Linked DNA regions of Homo sapiens: region 2 is linked to region 1. The links are contacts of gene promoters, found by promoter capture Hi-C in human tissues and cell types (Jung and others, 2019). All regions are on one chromosome and are shown on one strand. Each heading gives the region's core, a stretch centred on a gene start or on the middle of the fragment in contact. The rest is flanking DNA. Distances are from core to core; before and after follow the strand shown. Region 1 holds the start of RNF216 (ring finger protein 216). Region 2 overlaps RAC1 (Rac family small GTPase 1).

Region 1 (6,638 bases), core at 3,485-5,984:
TTAAGACAAAGAAAACAGGCCAGGTGTGGTGGCTCACACCTGTAATCCCAGCACTTTGGGAGGCCAAGGCGGGCGGATCACCTGAGGTCGGGAGTTCGAGATCAGCCTGAACAACATTGAGAAACCCTGTCTCTACTAAAAATAGAAAATTAGCCGGGAGTGGTGGCATATGCCTGTAATCCCAGCTACTCGGGAGGCCGAGGCAGGAGAATTGCTTGAAACTGGGAGGCAGAGGTTGCAGTGAGCCAAGATCACACCATTGCACTCCAGCCTGGGAAACAAGAGCAAAACTCCTTTCAAACAAACAAACAAACAGACAAAAATAGGACAGGTGCGGTGTGGCTCAAGCCTATAATCTCAGCACTTTGGGAGGCCGAGGCAGGAGGATCACTTGAGGCCAGGAGTTTGAGACCAGCCTGAGAAACACAGCGAGACCCCATCTATACAAAAAAATTAAAAAATTAGTCGGGCGTGGTGGCACACACCTGTAGTCCCAGCTACTCAGGAGGCAGGGGTGGGAGGGTCACTTGAGCCTGGGAGGTCAAGGCTGCAGTGAACTATGATTGACTGAGTCACTGCACTCTAGCCTCGGTGACAGAGTGAGACCCCCAACCCCACCCCACCCCCCTCCAAAAAAAAACAGGGCCGGGCACAGTGGCTCACGCCTGTGATGCCAACACTTTGGAAGGCCGAAGCAGGCAGATCACCTGAGGTCAGGAGTTCAAGACTAGCTTGGCCAACGTGGTGAAACCCTGCCTCTACTGAAAATACAAAAATTAGGCGGATGTGGTGGCGGGCACCTGTAATCTCAGCTACTTGGGCTGAGACTCGAGAATCACTTGAATCCGGGAGGCAGAGTTTGCAGTGAGCCAAGATCATGCCATTGCACTCCAGCATGAGCGACAAGAGTGAAACTCCGTCTCCAAAAAAAAAAAAAAAAAAAAAAGGCCAGAGGCTTCAAAAGTAACCAGAATGATTCCAGTTCAAAAGTAACCAGAATGATTCCAGTTCAAAAGTAACCAGAATGATTCCAGACAACCTAGAAGGAGGGAGTAGCTTCCTCTCGCCCTCACTGGGAAAAATGCAGAGATATGATAGTTGTCTTTATGACTCCGAAAATGCTTAAGACAAGAAGAGCATGTAAACAAATAACTCCTATGAGAGCTTCTCAATTCACACATGATCCCATTTCATCCTTGCAAGAACACCGGGCAATAGATAATATCTTAAAATTCCCATTTTACAAATAAAAAATTCCCCGCCAGACATGGCAGTTCACATCTGCCATCCCACCACTTTAGGAGGGCAAGATGGAAGGATCACTTAGAGCCAGGAGTTCGAGACCACCCTGGGCAACAAAGCGAGACTCTGTTTCTATAATTTTTTTTTTTTTTTGAGGCGAAGTCTTGCTGTGTTACCTAGGCTGGGGTGCAGTGGCGCAACCTCGGCTCACTGCAACCTCTGCCTCCTGGGTTAAAGTGATTCTCCTGCCTCAGCCTCCTGTGTAGCTGGGACTAGAGGCATGTGTCACCACACCTGGCTATCTATTAATGTTTTTTTAAATTAAACTTCAAAATAAAGGCCTGGCATGGTGGCTTACACCTGTAATCCCAGCACTTTGGGCTGAGACAGGCAGATCACCTGAGGTGAGGAGTTTGAGACCAGCATGGCCAACATGGTGAAACCCCGTCTCTACAAAAAATATTTTAAAAATTAGCCGGGTGTGATGGTGGGTGCCTGTAGTCCCAGCTACTTGGGAGACTGAGCCAGGAGAATCGCTTGAACCTGGGAGGCAGAGGTTCCAGTGAGGCAAGATCGTGCCACTGCACTCCAGCCTGGGCGATGGAAGGAGACACCGTCTCAAAAATAAATAAATAAAGACAAAAATAAAGTCTCTCTTCTCATTGCCATCACGTCTGAGTCAGAGTCTCCAAAAAGCCTGAACAAATAAAAAATTCCAGACTCAGGCCAGGTGCGGTGGCTCATGCCTGTAATTCCAGCACTTTGGGAGGCCAAGGCGGGTGGATCACGAGGTCAGGAGATCGAGACCATCCTGGCTAACACGGCGAAACCCCATCTCTACTAAAAATACAAAAAAAAATTAGCCCTTGGTGGCGGGCGCCTGTAGTCCCAGCTACTCGGGAGGCTGAGGCAGGAGAACGGCGTGAGCCCAGGAGGCGGAGCTTGCAGTGAACCAAGATCGCGCCACCGCACTCCAGACTGGGTGGCACAGCAAGACTTCATCTCAAAAAAAAAAAAAAAAAAAGCTAGACTCAGAGAGGTTACTCGATCGCACCTGCCTTGGGTGTGACACCAACCACAGAGGGGTTCAGTGGTCCGGAAAGAACCTTGCACTCCTGCTAAGATCACCAAGCTCTCCTTCCAATACTGCTTTCTTCCAACATCTCAAAGGGCTTATGAGGACCATCCTAAGAAGAAGGCTGTAACTGACAGCGATTATCCACCTCCCCCAAGAGGACCAGCATGGAGGATAAGCTCATCAAGGCCAATGCCTTTGTTTTACCTTCCAGGTGATTCCAGGATCTCATCTCAGGTAAGTATCTATCTTAAACTCTCTCTCCTGTTCACCCTCTAATGTCTCCCATGCACTGCACCCTCTAACTCAGGGCCTGACATCTGTAAGATCCCTAGATCCTCGTCCTGTTCTGTAAGCAGCCCTTCAATTTCTACTTCACTGAAACATGACTATTCCCTCAGGACACTGTTCCCCAAAGCACTATGAGTAGTGGTCTTTTTCTGTCCCATGCAAGCCCCCATAAGCCACACTCTACTGTCTTAGAGAAGGAACACTCATTGCCGCATCAAGACTATTGTTCCTCTCATTTCCCTGTTTTGTTTTTGTTTGCTTCTTTTGAGACAGGCTGTTGTTCTGTCATCCAGGCTGGAGTGCAGCAGTGCAATCATAGCTCACAGCAGCCTCGGACTCCTGGGCTCAAACAATCCTCTGGCCGGGTTTAGTGGCTCGCTCCTGTAATTCCAGCACTTTGGTAGGCCGAGGTGGGTAGATTACCTGAGGTCAGGAGTTCAAGACCAGCCTGGCCAACATGGTGAAACCCTGTCTCTACTGAAAATACGAAAATTAGCCGGGCGTGGTGGCACATGCTTGTAATCCCAGCTACTCAGGAGGCTGAGGCAGGAGAATCGCTTGAGCCCAGAAGGTGGAGGTTGCAGTGAGCCAAGATCGTGCCACCGCACTCCAGCCTGGCTGACAGAGTGAGATTCTGTCCAAAAAAACAAAACAAACAAAACAAAACAAAACAAAAAAATCCTCCCACCTCAGTCTCCTGAGTAGCTGGGACTATAGGTGCGCACCACCATGCCCGGCTAATTTTTATTTTTGTAAAGATGGGGTCTTACTCTATTGCCCAGGATCGTCTCAAACTCCTGGCTTCAAGCCATCCTCCCACCTCCATTTCCCAAAATGTTCGGATTCCAGGTATAAGCCACTATGCCCAGCCCAGACTCATTTATCTAATTACTGACTTGATATCTCTACTTGAAGGTGTACTTGGCAATTTTTTTTTTTTTGAGACACAGTCTCACTCTGTTACCCAGGCTGAAGTGCAGTGGCATAATCACTGCACTACAACCTCCCCCTCCTCGGTTCAAGCAATTCTTGTGCCTCGGCCTCCCGAGTAGCTCGGATTACAGGCACGCACCACCATGCCCAGCTAATTTTTGTATTTTTAGTAGAGACGGGGTTTCACCATGGTGGCCAGGCTGGTCTCGAACTCCTGACCTCAAGTGATCTGCCTGCCTCGGCCTCCCAATGTGCTGGGATTACAGGCGTGAACCACCACGCCTGGCCAGCAATTATTTTAAGAGTTGGGGTCTTGCTATTTTGCTAAGGCTGGTCTTGAACTCCTGGCCTCAAGCGATCCTCCTGCCTTGGCCTTCCAAAGCGCGGGGATTATGGACATGAGCCACTGTGCCCAGCAGGAGCAGTATTTTAGTCAGTTATTCACTTGCTCACTAAAACCTAAACTTCCTGAGGCCAGGAACACATTTTACTTTTTTTTTTTTTCGAGATGGAGGGTTGCTCTGTTGCCCAGGCTGGAGTGCAGGGGCGCCATGTTGGCTCACTACAACCTCCGCCTCCCAGGTTCAAGTGATTTTCCCGCCTCAGCCTCCTGAGTAGCTGGGATTACAGGCATCCGCCACCATGCCTGGCTAATTTTTTTATTTTTGGTAGAGACGGGTTTCACCATGTTGGCCAGGCTGGTCTCCAACGTCTGACCTCAAGTGATCCACCCGCCTTGGCCTCCCAAAGTGCTGGGATTACAGGCGTGAGCCACTGTGCCCAGCCATGGGACCCACTTTACTCTTAATTTCCCCAATTCCTAGAACAGTGTGTGGCCCACAGGAAATCCGCAGAATATATTTGCAGAATGAATGAATGACTTGCCAAACGAATTAGGGCAAATCAGTAGATATCGAGTAAACATCCACAACCACCTGCCCCATACCCTTTTCAGCTCTGGGGAGATGGTGGCTCCTTGTGGGGTCGGATATGGGGGTCTCCTTTCCTTTCACCCTCCTGCCTCGTGGGGGAGTCAAGTCTCCGCAGGCGGAGAGCCCGGATGCAGGCGCGACTAGGCGGCCCTCTCTATGGTGAGCCCCCCGGTCCCTCCTCCGCAGTACCCGGAGTGCCTCTATGGTTCTTCCTGTCCTTAGTCGGGAGGGGGCGCTGTGCGCAGGCGCGAGGTGACGCCGCGGCAGGGCCGGAAGGAGTGCAGCGGCTGCCACGGAGCTCGCAGCTGCGGCTTCTGAGGAGTAAGCGGCGCGGTAGCGAAGGCCGCCGAACCTGCCTGGCTAGCCGGCGACTTGAGTGACGAGTGAGTGTCGGCTGCGGGGCGCGCTCGAGCTCCTGGGCGGGTCTGTGAGGCGACGCGGCCTCTCTGAGGGGCGCCTCTGTGGAGCTCCGGGGGTGGGGGCGGGGGCGCGGGCCGTGAGGGCCGCCGAGCTGAGGGGCGCGGGCCGAGGCCCGGGCGGGATCGGGCCAAGGGGCTGGGCTGGGCGTCTCGAGCCCGGTGCGGTGGCGAGGCTGGAGCGACAAAGGCGCTGAGCGGCCGGGTGGCCCCCTCTCGCCACTTCGCGAAGTTTCGCGGGCCGGCCCCTCGGGTCTGCTGCGCGAGGGCAACAGCCCGGGAGACCGCGCTTCCCTCCCCCGGGCCCGAGGCCGCCGCGGAGGCGGTGTCCGTGCACCCGAGCGCGGCCTGGAGGAGCGGCGGGAGGCGGGCCGTGCCTGTGAACCCCAGCCCAGGCGGGCGGCGTTTTTCCTCCTCTTCCCTCACATCTGGAGCGCGTGTTCCGCGAAAGTTGGCGACTGTCACCCGGCACTCGCGAGGGCGCCGCAAGTGCGTCAAACCCTTCTGCGGGGCGCTGGGGGCTGGCCCGGCTCGGGTGTCCGGGCGCTGGGCAGCGAGCGAGGCCGCTGTCCCCGCGTCGAGGTGGTTCTGCTCCCGGTGGAACAGGACCAGGGATCCAAGACTCTGGGCCACTTGCAACCAACCCTGGAGCGTGCGCGGCGTGCGGGTTACAGAAATTTCTGACAAATCCGACAGGGCTCTGTAAATCCCTAAGGGCCTGGGTAGCAGCTGTCCTAGGTACTTAGATCGTGCAAAGAGAACGTTCTTTTTTCTTTTACTTTTTTTTTTTTCTCCTTTTCTTTGAGACGGAGTCTTGCTCTGTTGCCCAGGCTGGAGTGCAGTGGCGCGATCCCGGCTCACTGCAAGCTCTGCCTCCCGGATTCAAGCGATTTTCCTGCCTCAGCCTCACAGGGATTGCCTCAGCTGGGATTACAGGCATTTGCCACCACGTCCAGCTAATTTTTGTATTTTTAGTAGAGACGGGATTTCTCCGTGTTGGCCAGGCTGGTCTCTAACGTCTGACCTCAGGTGATCCCTCCGCCTCGGCCTCCCAAAGTGCTACAGTCTTTTCAAAAGACGTTTCAGATATGTTCTCCGGGACCCTCGGGCCCTTCAGTAAGAAGCGCCCTGGCTGAAAACCCACACGTTCACCTACAGAAGAAGCACTGTGACGTAGAGGGTGAGCAGAGCAGAGGGCCTCACAGTGGCCCTCACATGCACCTGGCTCCAGCCTGGCCAGGTCATTTTGCCCTGGTGGGCCTGTGCCTCAAAAATGGGGTTTCTTCCCTTGTGAGGAAGACCCATGAATTAGTAACGGAATTGCCAGGAATGCTAAAAACTATCTAAATGCCATGTATTGTTTTCAAGCTGTTACTCCTGGAAGGGGCTGGGTTGGCATTGTTTTAGAGGTTAGGAGCCAAACATCAGCTCATCTATTCTCCAGCTGTTGTTTGTCCTCCATCTTCCTGCAATAGTCAGGCACAGGGTCTTATAAAAATGGGTTTGTGCTGCTGTATGTTTCGGTGGGTACCTTTGTTTACTGAATGGGATGTAGGTGGGGGACCAGAGCATATCCGCGTCCCTCGGAAACAGTGGCGTTTTAGATGTAGTATGTCCCGTCAGCTCCTCTCTGCCCCACCCACCCCAGCCCATTCATTGAGCATTTTTTTTTTTTTTTTGAGGCGGAGTCTGGCTGTATTTCCCAGGCTAAAGTGCAGTGGTGCCATCTCTGCCCACTGCACCCTCCGC
Region 2 (6,779 bases), core at 1,267-3,766, 600 kb before region 1:
TCTAGAGCTGAAAAAAATATTTTTAGGCCAGGCATGGTGGCTCATGCCTGTAATCCTAGCACTTTGGGAGGCTGAGGTGGGTGGATCGCTTGAGCCCAGGAGTTCAAGACCAGCTGGGCCAACATGGAGAAACCCGTTCTCTACTAAAAATACAAAAATTAGGTGGGTGTGGCGGTGTGCAGCAGTAGTCTCAGCTACTTGGGGGGCTGAGGCACGAGGATCACTTGAACCCAGGAGGGAGGTCAAGGCTGCAGTGAAACAAGATTGCACCAGTGCATCCAGTCTGAGGGACAAAGTGAGACCCTGTCTCAAAAAAATAAATTTTTTTAAATTAAAAAATAAAAGCCTGGTGCAGTGGCTTAGGCCTGTAATCCCAGCACAGGAGGCTATAATCCCAGCACAGGGGCCTGAGGTGGGAGGATCGCTGAGCCCAGGAGTTCAAGACCAGCCTGGGCAACATAGGGAGACCTTGTTTCCACAAAAAATTCAAAAATAAGTGGTGGCTCTTGCCTGTAGTCCCAGCTACTCAGGAGGCTGAAGCAAGAGGATCCCTTCAGCCCAGGAATTCAGGGCAGCAGTGAGCTGTGATCACACCACTCCACCCAGCCTAGGTGACAAAGCACGATCCCATCTCAACAATAAAAAAATAAGTGGGCAGTGGCATAGGGAAATACGTTACCTCTTCTTGTTAAGGACATGGGGACTAGATCCTACTTGGAAAGTCACAGGTTTTAAATTGCCCAGAAAGCACTGGATTTTAGAAGAAGCCTCCAACTGCAGTGTGGCAGGAAGCCTGAGGACGCCAGGGACTCAGTCAAGGCAGACACACATGGAAGCTGTTGCTACAGTCCAGGAGCCATCCATGGTGGCCTGGACCAAGAATGGGGACTGGACAGTGAACATAAGTGGGCTGTTTCCTGGACTGCTTGAACTTGGAGGCAGATCAAGCATCGCTTACCCATGGTTTGGATGTGGCAGCTGAGGAAGAAAGTGGAGCCTAAGGCTCTAAGGGACCTTTTTAAAAATGATAAAGGTTGGCTGGGCTCGGTGGCTCACACATGTAATCCCAGCACTTTGGGAGGCCAAGGCGGGCGGATCACCTGAGGTCAGGAATTCGAGAAGAGCCTGACCAACATGGAGAAACCCCTCTCTACTAAAAATACAAAATTAGCCGGGCGTGCATGCCTGTAATCCCAGCTACTCGGGAGGCTGAAGCAGGAGAGTCGCTTGAACCCGGGAGGCGGAAGTTGCAGTGAGCCGAGATTGCGCCATTGCACTCCAGCCTGGGCAACAAGAGCAAAACTCCGTCTCAAAAAAAAAAAAAAAAAAAAAAAAAAAAAAAAAAAGATAAAGGTTGTGTAAAAACCTTAACAATAGTTGCCACTCAGTGTCAAGGATAAGCTGCTATGAAGGTTTTGACTGTTATGATAAAATGTCATTATCACTTCTTTTACTATTCTGTCCTAAGTCTCTATGTATATGAGGAACAAAACTACTAATATAAAGGCAACCAGCTGTGTCTAAAATCCTCTAAACTTCCTTTCCTGAATGACATCTTTAGCTGAGAAAGGCTCAACCGGGAAGAAATTCAAGGTACTGGCATAATCTGATACTGACTGAAATTTTATTACCAATCACTATTTGTTACAAATCTATGTCTTATAAGAATATGATTATTAAACTACAGAATTCTTAAAGTGCAACCTTATATTTAAGCTTAGTGCAATCAAAAGATAAAATCGACTCCTCTTTAAGTCTTCTGATTAAAACTTTTACTTAATTTATTCAAATAGGTAAAAGAAAAAGGTTATTCCACTCCTATTAGTGTATATTCATTCCTTGTCCACGCTGCGCTTCCACAAACCAAGTCAACATCTGCACTGGGCAATGTGACAGCCTTTCCATGGCCTTTCCCTCATGAAGAATGGAAGCCGTATTTGGCCACAAGTCTTGACTGATACTGCTGGAGAATTTCTGGTAGTTACTACTTCTTTGGAATTTCTAACTTTATATAATTAACTGCTCAGTTCAACCTCTTTTCAATCATCGAGCAATGTCATCACTCTAGGAAACGAACATGAGTCGGCTGGAAGAAAGTTCATGCCATTTCTACATTGGATTTCCCCCTAGCTCATGATGCTACAATTTTTTTTAACCTATCTGTGCTTCCCCTGCCCTGTCCTGTAGAAATAACCACAATGAAAGCAAATAACTTATGTTGCTATTATGTTCTTCATTTTTCCATTAAGAGAACTTTAAGACGGAGTCTTGGCTCTGTCTTCCAGGCTGGAGCCCAATGGTGCAATCCTGGCTTACCACAACCTCTGCCTGCTGGGTTCGAACAATTCTCCTGCCTCAGCCTCCCAAGTAGCTGGGACTACACGTAAGCACCACCACATCCAGCTAATTTTTTTTTGTTGTTGTATTTTCAGTAGAGACAGGGTTTTGCCATGTTGGCCAGACTGGTCTCGAATTCCTGACCTCAGGAGATCCACCCCATCGGCCTCCCAAAGTGCTGGGGTTACAGGCGTGAGCCACCACGCCCAGCCAAGAGAACTTTTTACTTACTTTTTGAGGAGAGTAGGGTAAACTTTAGTGTTACTTCCTGAAATCTATAAACCAAAACTTAAAAGCACAATCAACAAATCTAGAAACGCTAGGAATTTCCTCACGTTAAAAAAATAAAAGATCCAAGAAGCTCAAAAAATAACAACTTTCTGCACTGCCTTCTTTTAAAGACACGTTGATCTCAGGACAGAAAAGCCAAACTCTTCCAATGACAATTACAATTGCAAACCAAAATACAGAGCATATATTGCTGTCTAAAAGTGAGTAGATCTTGGCCAGGCGCAGTGGCTCTTCCCTGTAATCCCAGCAAGAGGCCAAGGCGGGTGGATCACTTCAGGCCAGGAGTTCGAGACCAGACTGACCAACACAGCGAAACTGCATCTCTATTAAAAATACAAAAAATTAGCTGAGTGTGGTGGCAGGCGCCTGTAATCCCAGCTACTCAGGAGGCTGAGGCAGAAGTATCGCTTGAGGCCACGGGGTAGAGGTTGCAGTGAGCTGAGATCGCATCACTGCACTCCAGCCTGAGCAACAGAGCGAGACTCTCTGACTCAAAAAACAAAAAAAAGTATGTAGATCTTAAGGACAAGGCAGTAGAATTTAGTAACTGTCAAATATATATTCCTACTTATTGAATAAATTAAAGACCTCGCATGAAGGTCCTCGATTTACACTGACAAACAAGGTATGGGGATTCTGTAACGGTAGGCCTTATATATAACTGCGTTAACTATGCAGATAAAATCTGTCCAGAAAAATACACCACTAGAGTAGTGCAGTGCTAAATAAACACAAAACCCAATCTAAAATTATGATGTTCTACTACCAATATCTGACTTCACAATCAATGTAAAGAAAGCTAGCCATAAGCCAGGCACGGTGGCTCATGCCTGTAATCCTAGCACTTTAGGAGGGCAAGGTGGGCGGACTGTCTGACCTTAGGAGTTCAAGACCAGCCTGGGCAGCACAGTGAAACCCCGTCTCTACTAAAATACAAAAGAAATTAGCTGGGTGTGGTGGCACACGCCTGTAATCTCAGCTACTCAGGAGGCTGAGGCAGGAGAATTGCTTGAACCTGGGAGGCAGAGGTTGCAGTGAGCTGATTTCGTGCCACTGCACTCCAGCCTGGCGACAGAGCAAGACTCTGTTTCTACCAAAAAAAAAAAAAAAAAGCCAGCAATTATTACCACTAGAAGCTTCAAAAAATTAAGATAGTGCATAAAGTTTCTCACTTAGGCTGAAGACACTATGTACAACTGAGCTGAAGTCTGAATCCACCCTTCCAGAATCAAGGCTAACCCTGGTGTAGTTGATACAAGCCAGCTGAACACACAAGAGTTCAAAAATAAGAATTTATATGTAACTGCACACAGTCCCTATTCTTTTTCAAAATCAGGCCGGGCATGGTGGCTGACGCCTGTAATCCCATCACTTTGGGAGGCCGAGGCAGGTGGATCACCTGAGGTCAGGAGTTCCAGACCAGCCTGGCCAAGATGGTGAAACCTGTCTCAACTAAGAATACAAAAATTAGCCAGGCATGGTGGTGGGTGCCTGTAAGCCCAGCTACTCAGGAGGCTGAGGCAGGAGAATCGCCTGAACCTGGGATGCGGAGATTGCAGTGAGCAGAGATCATGCCATTGCACTCCAGCCTGGGCAACAGAGCAAGACTCCACCTCAAAAAGAGCAAAACAAAACAAAACAAAAAACAAAATCAACTCCTCTATAAATCCTCTTAAAAGGTTCCCTCTGATAACAGGAAGACATGATAAAGCAAATACAGCAAAATGAACAAGTAGAGCAAAATACTGTCATAGAATCCAGGCCATGGGTATGTGCATGTTGACTGTACAATGCTTTCCACTAGTCTGTTTGAAATTTTTCATATTAAGACATTGCAGGAAAATATTCCTACTGATCACATGCAATCCTGCCTTGGTGGCAAAGACTCTTGACAAAAACATCTCCTTTCAAGGAAGACTACAATTTTAAGAGCTACGTAGTGATGGAGATGTGAAAAAGTAGGCAGTACTAAGGTATCAGATGACTAATGCAAAAAGACAGAAAGTTATAAAGGGTGAATTTAAGGTTTCTAAAAATGGCTTCCTGATGCTCCTCCCACTTAGCCCAACTCCAAACTTTTACTGTAACTATCATTTGAAATTAAAACACACACACACACACACATTATGTATAATTTTTTTGGCTTATCAAGAAAAAAAACCACATTATGTATAAAATCATCAACAAAGATCAGAGCCATATACTACACCTACATTTGGAGGCCAGTGCAGAATTCAAATACCTTTACCACAGGTCAAAAATATGAAACCCCATGCCTTGAGAGGAAAACACACAAAACAGCTGAAAAGCTTAAACAAATTCATGGTTCACGCCACCACCGTTCAACAGAAGTAAAGAATAAATGTAAAGAATGTTCCTGTAAGGATGATGTCACGGAAGGCATTTTTCACATTCAGCTAAGAAACTCCTGGACAGTAATGTATGTCCAAGTCAGACATTGGGCTAGACAGGCCACTAGCCCAATCTGGACTCCACTTTGTATAAAGAGTGAAACAGAGAGGGCTTCAAGTCATTCGTTCCCATTCCTTTAATCAACCAACACCAAAACAACACTATTAAAATAGTTGTGGCCGGGCGCAGTGGCTCGGGCCTGTAATTCCATCACTTTGGGAGGCCAAAGCAGGAGAACTGCTTGAACCCAGGAGGCAGAGGTTGCCATGAGCCCATATCATGCCACTGCACCCCGGCCTGGGTGACAGAGCGAGACTCCATCTCAAAAAATAGTAATAAGCAATAAAAAAATAAAAAATAAAATAATAAAACTGTTGTTTAGGCCAGGGACGATGGCTCACGCCCATAATCCCAGCACTTTGGGAGGCCAAGGCGGGCAGATCGCCTAAGGTCAGGAGTTCGAAACCAACCTGGTCAACATGGTGAAACCCTGTCTCTATTAAAAATACAAAAAATTGCCAGGCGTAGTGGCTCATGCCTGTAATCCCAGTACTTTTTGAGAGGCTAAGGCAGGTGGATAACCTGAGGTCAGGCGTTTGAGACCAACCTGGCTAACAAGGAGAAACCTCGTCTCTATTAAAAATACGAAATTAGTCAGTGTGGTGGAGCGTGACTGTAATCCCACCTACTCGACAAGCTGAGGCAGGAGAATCGCTTGAACCCAGGAGGAGGAGGTTGCAGTGAGCCGAGATCGCACCACTGCACTCCAACCTTTGCAAAAAGGGCGAAAACTCCTTCTCAAAAAAAAAAAAAAAAAAAAAATTACCTCGGCATGGTAGCAGGCACGTGTAGTTCCAGCTACTTGGGAGGCTGACGCAGGAGAATCACTTGAACCCAGGAGGTGGAGGCTGCAGTGAGCCAATATAAAATAAAAACAAATAAATAATAAAAGTTGTTTATAAATACCTGAATGTAAGATGCTGTCTTTTTTTTCCTTTTTGAGACGGAGTCTCACTCTGTTACCCAGGCTGGAGTGCAGTGGCACGATATTGGCTCACTGCAACTTCCACCTCCCTTGATTCAAACAATTCCCCTGCCTCAGCCTCCCGAGTAGCTAGGATTACAGGCGCCCCCCACCATCCTTGGCTAATTTTTTTGTATTTTTAGTAGAGACAGGGTTTCACCATATTGGCCAGACTGGTCTCGAACTCCTGACTTCAGGCAATCCGCCTGCCTTGGCCTCCCAAAGTTCTGGGATTACAGGCATGAGCCATCGCGCCCGGGTGATGCTGTCTTACCTAGGAAAAGCTGAGAGAAAATCTTGGGGCAAAGGTCCACTAAGTGAAAGTTAAAAGGTGGGGCAGCAGTAAGGTGGAGGAAAAAAAAATTATAGACCCCATGCTCAGAAAGGACTATCTTAGAATAAAAGAGTATCAACCCTATGTAATATTTCTTGGCCAATCTCAATTAAATTGCTATTCAGGAAATCTAGAATTTTCTAACATGCTTTGCAAATTATTTCTGACTTTTTTTCTTTTTTTTTCAAGACAGAGCCTTGCTCTTGTCGCCCAGGCTGGAGTGCAGTGACACAATCTCAGCTCACTGCAACTTCCGCCTTCCGGGTTCAAGTGATTCTCCTGCCTCAGCATCCTGAGTAGCTGGGATTACAGGCGCCCACCACCACGCCCGGCTAATTTTTGTACTTTTAGTAGAGACAGGGTTTTGCCATGTTGGCCAGG

The links. The method cuts DNA at HindIII sites, captures the fragments that hold promoters and counts their contacts. A contact is called where the count stands out against the background at its distance.
Region 2: a fragment that was not itself captured here is called in contact with the fragment with the promoter of RNF216 in region 1 in 1 of the 25 tissues and cell types used here (aorta).

Annotation. Positions count from the first base shown.
Region 1 is chr7:5,779,759-5,786,396 of GRCh38, reverse strand. It overlaps RNF216 (ring finger protein 216), which reads left to right and starts at 4,734. Exons shown (of 17, transcript NM_207111.4): 1 at 4,734-4,856. RefSeq lists a silencer at 4,936-5,325. The HindIII fragment of the contact is 32,599 bases long and covers 1-6,638 here.
Region 2 is chr7:6,378,352-6,385,130 of GRCh38, reverse strand. The region is part of intron 1 of RAC1 (Rac family small GTPase 1); the gene reads right to left. Among named protein-coding and RNA genes, the nearest start is that of RAC1, 7.2 kb to the right of the region's middle. The HindIII fragment of the contact is 3,671 bases long and covers 681-4,351 here.